Linked DNA regions of Homo sapiens: regions 1 and 3 are each linked to region 2. The links are contacts of gene promoters, found by promoter capture Hi-C in blood cells and fetal thymus (Javierre and others, 2016). All regions are on one chromosome and are shown on one strand. The core of a region is centred on a gene start or on the middle of the fragment in contact, and the rest is flanking DNA. Distances in the headings are between cores, read along the strand shown. Region 1 holds the start of CBFB (core-binding factor subunit beta). Region 2 holds the start of WWP2 (WW domain containing E3 ubiquitin protein ligase 2). Region 3 holds the start of CES2 (carboxylesterase 2).

Region 1 (3,678 bases), core at 547-3,046, 2.7 Mb before region 2:
CTAAGCTCATGGCCATCAAGGCCATTCTAGAGATCTTTCAATTTTTATTTATTCCACATTTCCCATGGCAGAAACAATTATTGCTAGAGTCTTTGGCCAAGATCAACTTGGAGGTCTGTGAGCCCTCCTTGGACCCATTGTGGAGCAAGAGTGCTTCCTCATGGATTTTTTTTCCCCCCGAGACGGAGTTATGCTCTTGTTCCCCAGGCTGGGGTGCAATGGCACGATCTTGGCTCACCGCAACCTCTGCCTCCCAGGTTCAACCAATTCTCCTGCCTCAGCTTCCGAGTAGCTGTTTGAGACGGAGTCTTGCTCTGTGGCCCAGGCTGCAGTGCAGTGGCACCGTCTTGGCTCACTACAACCTCCGCCTCCCAGGTTCAAGCGATTCTCCTGCCTCAGCCTCCCGAGTAGCTGAGACTACAGGCGTGTGCCACCACACCCCGCTAATTTTTGTACTTTAGTAGAGATGGGGTTTTGCCATGTTGACCAGACCGGCCTCGAGCTCCTGATCTCAGGTGATCAGCCTGCCTCGGCCTCCCAAAGTGCTGGGATTAGGCCAGGCGCAGTGGCTCATGCCTGTAATCCCAGTACTTTGGGAGGCCGAGGCGGGCAGATCACCTGAGGTCAGGAGTTCGAGACCAGCCTGACCAACATGGCGAAACCCCGTCTCTACTAAAAATACAAAAAAATTAGCTGGGCGTGGTGGTGGGTGCCTGTAATTCCAAATACTCGGGAGACAGAGGCAGAAGAATCACTTGAACCCAGGAGGCGGAGGTTGCAGTGAGCCGAGATCGCGCCATTGCACTCCAGCCTGGGCGACAGAGCGAGGCTCTGTTTAAAAAAAAAAAAAAAAAAAAAAAAAAAAGAGGGCTGGGATTACGGGTATGAGCTACAGTGCCCGGCCACAGGACTAACTTTGAATCAAACTCTGCCATAAATCCCATGTCAGACTTTCTCCAGTTTGGGCTAAACAACTTCCCTAGAATTTATGGATCTTATTTTTTGCAGCTGATTGCACATTGAGTAAGTATATGGACTGGCAATCGGTTACATTCTTAACTCAGCTTGTTCTTCTTTAGAAACTTAAATTTATTGGGCTCCCACTGTGTGCTAGACCCACATAAAGGTTCTCACGCTAACACTGCAAACCTAGGAGTGTCTGCATTTTGGAAATAAGGAAACTGAGGTTTAGTGGTCCAATTCTTATCTAAGGCCCCAGCCAGCAGGTAGTGTAGCTGAGTGGGATCCCATCTAAGACCCATCTGACTCCAAAAGCCACGACCTTTCCACCATGACTCGGTTGGATTCTTTGGTCCGTTTCCACCTCAGTCTTCAACGTGCAGAGCCTACACCCCTGCCGGTCGGTTTAGGGACGAAAAGTCCCCAAGGACTTAGGTTTCCTCGCGTTCAAGTGACAATCTGGGGTTACTCCGCGCACCTGGGGAACCCAGAAGTTCCAGATGACCGAGGAAGGGCGGTAGAAAAGGCCTGCGCTGGCTACTCCCGTCTGCTAAAGGCCAGGCGGATCCCCCAACGACAGCTCCACGCCGAGTGGCCGCGGGCGAGCAGGGGGAAAAGGGCCCTGATGCGGAAGGAGCCCCGGGGCGCCACAGCCAGGCCGCTCCGCCAGCGGGCGGGTGGCGCATGCGCGGCGTGGGCCGCGGAGTTGTGAATGGTGCGTCTTGTTTGCCGGAGTTGGAGGCGGGCGGGCGCGCGAGGAGGAGGGGTGGGGCCGGCGGGGGCGGGGTGGGCGGTGAGAGGAAGTGGCGGCGGCGGCGGCGGCGGCGGCCGGGGGCGGTGAGCGCTGGGGCTGCGCGGGCGGCAGGCAACGGCTGAGGCGGCGGCGGCGGCGGCGGCGGCGTGGGTTGGGCTCGAGCGGGCGGCGGCGCCTCAGACTCCCCGGAACGGGAGCCCACGCGGGCGGGCGCCTGAAACAAAGGGAAGCGGGCGTCCGGGCGCCGCGGGTGGGCGGTCAGTCGGTCAGCGCGGAGCCAGCCAGCGGGTGCCCGCGCAAGCCCCGAGCGCGGCCGGCCGGCGCGGCCTCAGGGCGGGAAGATGCCGCGCGTCGTGCCCGACCAGAGAAGCAAGTTCGAGAACGAGGAGTTTTTTAGGAAGCTGAGCCGCGAGTGTGAGGTGAGGCAGGCGGGCGGGCGGCTAGGAGGCCGCAGCGCGCCCCGAGTGGGCCCGGGCGGAGAAAAGTTTGGGCGGCACGGTCCCCGGGAGTCCCGGTCGGTGCGCCCGCGGAGGGGCAATCTCGCCGGGGCGGCCATCGCCCGCAGCCTCTGCTTGCCCTTATCGGCGCTGCGCTGGGAGGGCGGGCGCGCGGGCGGCGCCGCGGATTTGGCTCCTGATTTCGGGCCGTCTTGCCTTGCAGATTAAGTACACGGGCTTCAGGGACCGGCCCCACGAGGAACGCCAGGCACGCTTCCAGAACGCCTGCCGCGACGGCCGCTCGGAAATCGTAAGTCGGCTGGCCCGGGGCGCGCGCGGGTCACTTGTTGCGCGGGGCCGCGGCGGCCCAGGCCGGTTCCGGACGGCGGCGCGGCTGCTGCGGCTCCCGGAACTGAGTGGGCGCCGTCTCACTTCCTACTCGGGATTCAAAATGCGAAACCAGATGCCGCGGGCCGGTACTCGCGGGGAGACGCTTTTCCTGGGGCTCGCCGCGGTGGCGCGTGTCGGCCAACGGAGCACCGCGAGTGGAGCTCGAACCCGAGCCAGACTAAACAAGCGAAGGGCATTGTTTAGGCGGCGACACCGAAGAAGGGTTCAGGGTATTTGTAGCAAGCAAACCCCCATTCGGAAAAAGAAGTGGAGCTTCATTCAAGGTCGGCGATAGTTTGTTTCTTAGAAGGTAGATCTGTCGGTAATTCTCTGTGTCAAGCGGTCTCACTACCAGATCGCCGAGTAGAAATCTTTCCTCCAGTTATTTATTCTAATAGAGAGGGGAGGGGGGGGAAAAGGCCCTAAAAATGTCATTTTCTTAGAATGTTAAGCTTCAGGAGAATCAGAAAGAAACCATTATCCCCATGTCCTGAGTAGGGCTGCTGTTCCTAAAAACTGCACAGATGGGCAAAACCCACGGTTGATCTCGAGGTCCTTGTTTTAGGAGGCAGATTTAGTGCGTCTTCACCAGACCTTGGGTTGAAAAAAAAAATCCAAGGGTCCTAGTTCCTCTCATCTTTTTGGTTTGCCTTGTTGGAGGTGCTGATGAGGAGGGAGTGGTAGGAAGAAACCAAGAAAAGAGGTTGATTATTACTATTTTTTTGAGGTAGAGTCTTGCTCTGTTGCCCAGGCTGGAGTACAGTGGCTCGATCTCGGGTCACTGCAACCTTCGCCTCCTGGGTTCAAGCGATTTTCCTGCCTCAGCCTCCTGAGTAGCTAGGATTACAGGTGCCTGCCACCACGCCCGGCTAATTTTTGCATTTTTAGTAGAGACGGGGTTTCACCTTGTTGGCCAAGCTGGCCTCCTGACCTCAAGTGATCCGCCCTCCTCGACCTCCCAGAGTGCTGGGATTACAGGCGTGAGCCACTGCGTCTGGCCTGATTATTTTTTAAAAAGTTGAAGCACTGTCTAATGGAATGCTGTTACTCTCTGCTCGGTGACTTGGACTCACTGCATTGTTAGAGGCTTGAAGCTAGGTGCGATTTGAATTTGGGTTAACAGTAGGAAGACATTGG
Region 2 (3,721 bases), core at 1,167-3,666:
AAAGTACTGGGATTACAGGTGCCAGCCACCGCACCCTGTCAGATTTTATTCTTTTAATGTGCAGTGTGTGCTCTTTGCTTGTCCCTTCTCCCCTTTGGTGAACACTTACTCAGATGCCACTAAATCTTTTCTGCAGGGTTGTTAAAAAAAAGCAACAAAAGATAAAAAATGAAATATGAAAGAAGAAAACAAACCGAAACCAACAAATGCTAGTAAGTCAAGGAAATAGTCTCTAATTTATCTAGAACAGAATTAGTAAAACTGCCATCAATGGAACTGGAGAAGTTTTAGTTATAGTAGTTTTATAAATGAGACTAATATAGGGTTTAATGTACAAAGACAGGACTGTATCTCCTTGAAAGTTAATCTCTTGGATTTGGAGTGGTACTACAAAAAGTAGAGACTAAGTGTTCAACCTATTTATTTATTTAGATACAGAGTCTCACTCTGTCGCCCAGGCTGGAGTGCAGAGGCGTTATCATGGCTCACTGCCACCTCCGCCTCCCGGGTTCAAGCAATTCTCCTGCCTCAGGTTCTGGAGTACCTGGGATTACCCGCACCCGGACCATGCCCGGCGAATCTTTTTTTTTTTTTTTTTTGTAGTTTTAGTAGAGATGGGGTTTCACCAGGTTGGCCAAGTGGGTTTCGAACTCCCGACCTCAGGTAATCCACCTGCCTCTGCCTCCCAAAGTGCTGGGATTACAGGCGTGAGCCTCCACGCCCCACCAGCCAATTTAATTTGTATGCATGATAGAATCCATCCCAATTCGAAGACCCAAAAATAACAGATTAGTACAAGTCTTTGAGGCTAATTACGTCATTAGTATTAATTTTAATCAATGGTGATTAAACTGAGCCTTCATTCAACTTGTCCAGAACATCAGTCAAGAATGTCTATTTAAAATGTTCTTGGAGGCCGGGCGCATTGGCTCACGCCTATAATCTGAGCACTTTGGGAGGCCAAGGCAGGTGGATCATCTGAGGTTAGGAGTTTGAGACCAGCCTGGCCAACATGGTGAAACCCCATCTCTATTAAAAATACAAAAATTAGCCAGGCATGGTGGTGGGTGCCTGTAGTCCCAGCTACTCAGGAGGCTGAGGAAGGAGAATTGCTTGAACCTGGGAGGCAGAGGTTGCAGTGAGCCAAGATTGAGCCACTGCACTCCTGCCTGGGCTACAAGAGTGAAACTCTGTCTCAAGCAAGCAAATAAATAAATAAATAAATAAATAAATAAAGTTATTGGGCAGGCACAGTGGCATTCGCCTGTAGTCTCAGCTACTTGGGAGGCTGAAGCAAGAGGACTGCTTGAAGCTGGGAGTTCGAGCCCAGCCAAAGCAACCTATCCAGACCCATCTCTTAAAAAAAATATTTCTCTGCCAGGTGCGGTGGTTCATGCCTGTAATCCCAGCACTTTGGGAGGCCAAGGTGGGCGGATCATTTGAAGTCAGGTGTTCGAGACCAGACTGGTCAACATGGAGGAACCCTGTCTCTACTAAAAATGCAAAAATTAGCCAGGCGTGGTGGTGCACGCCTGTAATCCCAGCTACTCGGGAGGCTGAGGCAGGAGAATTGCATGAACCGGCGAGACGGAGGTTGCAGTCAGCTGAGACTGCACCACTGCACTCCAGCCTGGGCGACAGAGCGAGGCTCCATCTCAAAAAAAAAAAAAAAAATATCATCTATCTATCCACCTACCTACCTACCTACCTACCTGGATTATAATTCATTAAGTTCTCTGTGCCCTGTAGTTGTAGATTAAGGGAATGCGATTGGATTAGTGTGGAGGGGCTTTTTATGGAGCCAAGCAGGAGTTTTTAAGCTTTTGTACTTTTGCTTCATGTCACAAGGACAGATGCCCCACAAAGGCTGAGATGTTTGTGGTCCTGGATCTTAGAACAGTGCCTGGCACATAATAGGCATAAGGTTGCCAGGAAATAGAAATACAGATACTCAATTCAATTTGATCTTCAGATAATCAAAAAATACTTTTTTTAGTATAAATATGTCCCATTCTGTATTTGGGACATACATATTACACTGTTGTTTATCTGAAATTCAAATTTAAGTGGGTGTCCTGTACTTTATCTGGCAACCCTACTAAAGGAGCTCAATTAAGTATTTGCTGACTTAACAGTCTGAAGGTCTCGTTTCACCTGTAAAATGGGGCTAGTACCTGTCCCTGCCTCTATAAGGTTGATGGGCAGAGTAGGTGGCATTCAGTGAGCCCTCAATTTATTTGATTGCCTGGGACCATCCGGTGAGCAGAAACCCTTCCACTTTCAACTACAGAGACGATAAAAAGGCCTCCTCGAGGCCAGAGGTGCCCAGGCCAGGCCTAGGTGGCCCGCACCTGCGAGCCTGGCCAGCCTCTTCCGGGTCAGGTGACCGCGCGCGGTCACGTGACCCGGCCCGAGTGCGGGCGGTGGAAGGCGGAAGTAGGAGAGGAGTTCGGCGCCGCTTCTGTGGCCACGGCAGGTAGCGAGCGCTGGCGCGGGGGGCGCGGTGGGCTGGCTGCCTGCACGGGGCGGGCCGGGGGCGGCGGGCGGCGCGGGGTGGGCCGGGGGCGGCGCGGCCCGGGCGTCGGGGGGCGGCGGCTTCCTGTGGGAGGGGCCTGGCGCGGCGGTTCCGGCCTCCGAGGAGGGGTGTCCCGGCTCCCGCCCGAGTGGGGTGGGCGCGCCGCGGCCCGCGCGGGGGTTGCTCCGAAATGGGTGCCCCGGCCGCCAAGGGTGCAGCTGGAGCGAGTCCTCCCGGAAGGGGAGAGGAGCTTAGGTTCCCAGGCATGGAGAGGAGCGATCTTTGTGGAGGGATCGGGACCAGGGGAAGGGGCGACTTGGAACTGAGCTGGAAGGGGGTGCCTGAAAATGGGTTTATGGCGTGGAGCCAGAGGGAAAAAGATGCTGCCTGGACCCCCTCTGAGAGTCTCTCCCTTCCTTCCTGTTTGGAAATGATTGTTACCCGAGACTTTGATGACGGTCCCATTCAGTTTTTAAACTTCAGGAGGGATCACAGAATCTTGATCGTCTTGCTTCCCTCGCGCCCACTTAGTCCTGCGTGGGTAGGGTTTCCACTTCTTGGGAGCCTAGCCCTTCAGCTCATTTTTCTTTGAGATTTTCCCTGAACGGGCCATCATCGAGGCTTTAAAAAACAAAAAAAGAAAATAAATTAAAAAAATAAGTGTGGGCACTTTGCCTGTAAAATGGCTTTTAGCTTACACTGTTGACCTAGCCCAGCGTTACCTCAGCAACATAGTGACTGCTGAAATCTTGGACAGAGAAGTGTCTACCTAGACTGCTTTATGACTTTTCTCTTTCTTCCGTTTAAATTATTCAGTTTCCCTTAGCTTATCTTGTGACTGCTTATCTTGACGAACTGTAACTAGGTAGGGTGCCTGAGAGGTCTGTGTTATGTTCCTTAGAACTGTGACCTGGATCATGATTTTGAGATTGAATACTTGTGTTAAAGCCTGTTCATCTTCCTGTTTCTCATGTTTACTAAAATTTGCAGAAGCAAAAGGAGTTTCATGAGTGCAGTGTAACTGGAACGAATGTTCAAACTGGACATTCACAGCAGCCAGCATCGTTTTGGGTTACAAGTAGGAAAAAGTACTTTCCTAATGTATTATGAGTTCAAGTTTTTGGAGTTATTTGACAAACATTTAAAAATTAGTTTTTGCAGCAGCGCCTATGAGTGAGGTTGGGAAGATGTATTCTCATTTCACAG
Region 3 (3,291 bases), core at 664-3,163, 2.8 Mb before region 2:
CTCCAACTGACCTTGAAACGCTGAGGAAGGGAGCGCAGAAGCTTGACCTTGATGGACAGACCAATAAGGGTGGCCATGCTGCAGTGCGGAATGGTTGGTGTGAAAGCCACAGCCACTGTACTCTCGGGGTCGCTAACCTGGTTGTGGAGGAGAGATGTCAAGAGTCAACCACCCTCAGCCCAAGGTCCCTCTTCTTAGTTTGTTGTTTTGGGCAAATCATCCAACTTCTATGGGCCTCAGTTTCAACACCCATAAAATAGGCACAACAATCTCCCTCCCCAAAGATACCCTTCGGTGTTCGTGAGCATAGAGCACGCCAGCTCCTGCTGCACAGAAACCTTTCTGACTCTCTGGAACAACTCGCTCCCCTCGGAAGTGACTCACCTGAACCCGCACCTGCTCTACTACGTTCAACTCCTCTAGCGTCAGTGGATGCTCCGGGTCATTGATGGAGCGAATCAGATGTGGGAAGTGAAGGAAAAGGGACTCTGCGCCCTTGCCCACTTAGAACCCTCTGCCAGGAACGCCCTGCTGGGATGCGGCTCCACCAGCTGCTCGATATCACTGCTCCCCCCACCGCAAGCCCCCGGAACCCGCCCGCGCCCAGCAGCGGCGGATATCGAAGATCTCGCGTGCGTCGATGCTGTCGGGAACCTGCTCGTCCTCCTCGCCTGCCGTCACAGGCCGCTCCCCAGAGCGCTGGTAGATGAGGGGGTTGGCATTCTCCAGGAGGCCGCCGCCGACCCCGCCGCCGCCTACCATCGCGGAACCACCACCGCTGATCCTAGCAGGCGTGCGCTTCCGCTCCAACCCGCGCACTTCCGGAGAACGGGAAGGGGGCGTGGCGTGGCGACGGAGTCGCGCGAGGGACACGCCGCGTTGTGGGTTCTCGGCCTGAGGTGCGAGAGAAGCGGTGACCGCGGCCCTGGCTGCTCGGACCCGGGAACATGATGGTCGCTGGAGCAGAAGGCGCTGAGAAGGGACCACGGCGGCGCTGGGTCGTGCGAGCCAGTAGCGGGCTGAAACGTAGAGGCCAGAACCAGGTCTCAGGGGGCACTAAAGGCGGTCGGAGGTAATCCCCACACCGCTTCCTCCTGGAAGTCAGGCTGGCCGGGAGCTCCCGTATCCAGGACGGTTGGTCGCCTCTGGCCTGGCAGGGATCCTAGTGTCTCGGGACCTCCCGGTGACGCGCCTGCCTCCCCTGCTGCACCATAGGCCCGGGAGTACGGCGTCCCCACAGCTTGGACCGGCAGGGGCTCGTGAAATGTTTGTCAAGTGGATAAATGACCATGGCCGTGGTCTCCGCGGGAGGTGAGGAAACTGAAAGCCACCGAGGAAAAGGGGGGCGCTCCTTAAGAAGTGCCGCGGTCACGTGTACGTTTCAAAAGAATGGCGTGACTGAGTAGGGAGGGGACCGCGGAGACCCTCAGACCCTGGACTGTAAGGAGATGAGGGGCCGTGAAGGGGAACCCAGGAAACTGAGTCCTGAAAGCAAGGAGGAACTTCCAGAATGAAGGGCGCCGACACTCCTTCCTGCCTTTGCTCAAGCGGTTCCTTCACCCCGATCAAGTTCCTTCCCATTTCTCCATCTGGGGGATCCTGAACGTGCACATCCTCAGAGAAGCCCTCCTGGGGTCTCCAATTCTAGTTTATTGCCCCCTCCTATCGATCCCCCAGCGCGCTCATCGGGCCTGTGGACAAGGACAGGTTTGAAGAGAGGATTCCCTGGATCGCGGAAGGGCTGCAGGAATGGCACAGCCCCTTCCGAGGATGCCAAAGGAGCCCGGGCAAAGGAAAGTGGCCGTGCCCGGGCCTGCCTACCACTAGATCCCCACCCACCTATGACTGCTCAGTCCCGCTCTCCTACCACACCCACCTTTCCCGGCCCAAGCCAGCGCACCCCGCTGACTCCCTGCCCAGTCCAAACTCCAAGGCTGGGCAAGGCACTGATCCACTGCTGGACAGACCCGGGGCAGCCTCTGGGTGAACAGCAGCGTGTCCGCCGGCAGCGAACCGAGACCAGCGAGCCGACCATGCGGCTGCACAGACTTCGTGCGCGGCTGAGCGCGGTGGCCTGTGGGCTTCTGCTGCTTCTTGTCCGGGGCCAGGGTGAGGCTCCCTCGGAGGGGCGACAGGGACCGGGCTCAGATCTGCCAAATGCTGCGGAGGCAGAACCTGACAGTGCGGGAGGGCAGGCGCCTGGGAGGTAGGAGCTGGTGGAGATGACAGCGTGGAACTCGTGAGCCCCACGCAACGCCTCCCCGCCGCCCAAGGTGGGCTCCTAGAAGCACAGAAAGGGTCGGGCTGGGGGACACCACGGCAAGGAACCAGCGGAGTACAGGGGCCCCAGGAGCGCCGGGACATGCCAGGCCGGGTAGGCAGCCTGGGGTCGGAGTGGGTGAGGGATTGGGGTGTGGGGATTCAGTCCATTTCCCTCTTATGATTGTGGCTGTAGCGGGTGCTGCCGGCCGGTAATAACAGTAATAGCTTCTGGCAGCATCTGGCTCTCAGTGTGTGGCGTCCTTGGCCAGGGGGGATGCCCTGAGCCCTCCAAAGGGGCCTCAGACAAGGATAGTGGTCCTTGGGGAACAGAAGCCCCCAGGCGCCAAATCCTAAAGCAGATCTAAGAGGCCACAGTGGCTGGGTGCGATTGGCTCACTCCTTTAATCCCACCACTTTAGAAGGCCAAGGGAGAGTATCGCTTGTGCCCAGGAGTTGGAGGCCAGCCTGGACAACATAGTGAGACTCGGAGTGTACAAAAAATTGAAAGAAATTAGTGGGCTGTGGTGGTCTGTGACCTGTAGTCCCAGCTACTTGGGAGGCTGAGGTGGGAGATCACTTTAGTAGGGGAGGTTGAGGCTGCAGTGAGCCTTCATCCCACTACTGCACTCCAGCCTGGGTGAAAAAGCAAAAATCTGTCTCCAGAAACAAGAACCAAAGAGCTCGTGGTGTCCCTCATGCCATTTACCTCATCCTGGGCAAGGGCACAACTTGGCTTCCAGGGCAAAGGTGAAGGCTCTGTGTGCCTGCCAGGCTTCTCCAGGCCCTTATCAGAAGCTGGGGGAGTGTTTCGGCCTTTGGTCCTCTCACCCGAAACTCTCCTAAGTGTATGATCTGTCTCTTCCAACCCTTCCCCAATTTAATTTGCGCAGGTGGAGTCCATACTCCCCCCGCCCCATGGTGCACTGCTGCAGGGCTTCCTCCCGTGCCTGCCCTTGACCACATTCTAGAGTTCACCAGGAGCCCAGCAGGAAGATCTGCCTGGCCTCACAGATGGCTACCTTTTAAAAT

The links. The method cuts DNA at HindIII sites, captures the fragments that hold promoters and counts their contacts. A CHiCAGO score of 5 or more calls a contact.
Region 1: the fragment with the promoter of CBFB here is called in contact with the fragment with the promoter of WWP2 in region 2 in 2 of 17 cell types (fetal thymus and non-activated CD4 T cells); the score reaches 6.3 in fetal thymus.
Region 3: a contact is called between the fragment with the promoter of CES2 here and the fragment with the promoter of WWP2 in region 2, in 4 of 17 cell types (non-activated CD4 T cells, naive CD8 T cells, total CD8 T cells and 1 more). The highest score is 8.4, in non-activated CD4 T cells.

The regions. Positions count from the first base shown.
Region 1 is chr16:67,027,353-67,031,030 of GRCh38, forward strand. It overlaps CBFB (core-binding factor subunit beta), which reads left to right and starts at 1,797. Exons shown (of 6, transcript NM_022845.3): 1 at 1,797-2,133; 2 at 2,375-2,461. The coding sequence starts at 2,056. RefSeq lists an enhancer at 1,060-1,199 and silencers at 1,760-1,949, 2,040-2,279, 2,530-2,579. The HindIII fragment of the contact is 7,418 bases long and covers 1-2,991 here.
Region 2 is chr16:69,759,916-69,763,636 of GRCh38, forward strand. WWP2 (WW domain containing E3 ubiquitin protein ligase 2) reads left to right here and starts at 2,417. Exons shown (of 24, transcript NM_001270454.2): 1 at 2,417-2,476. RefSeq lists an enhancer at 2,222-2,800 and silencers at 2,504-2,643, 2,664-2,823, 2,844-2,893. The HindIII fragment of the contact is 2,162 bases long and covers 1,819-3,721 here.
Region 3 is chr16:66,933,603-66,936,893 of GRCh38, forward strand. CES2 (carboxylesterase 2) reads left to right here and starts at 1,914. Exons shown (of 12, transcript NM_001365405.1): 1 at 1,914-2,109. The coding sequence starts at 2,034. CIAO2B (cytosolic iron-sulfur assembly component 2B) reads right to left here and starts at 800. Exons shown (of 5, transcript NM_016062.4): 1 at 621-800; 2 at 385-464; 3 at 12-137. The coding sequence starts at 762. RefSeq lists enhancers at 406-455, 486-685, 1,524-2,136. The HindIII fragment of the contact is 4,886 bases long and covers 40-3,291 here.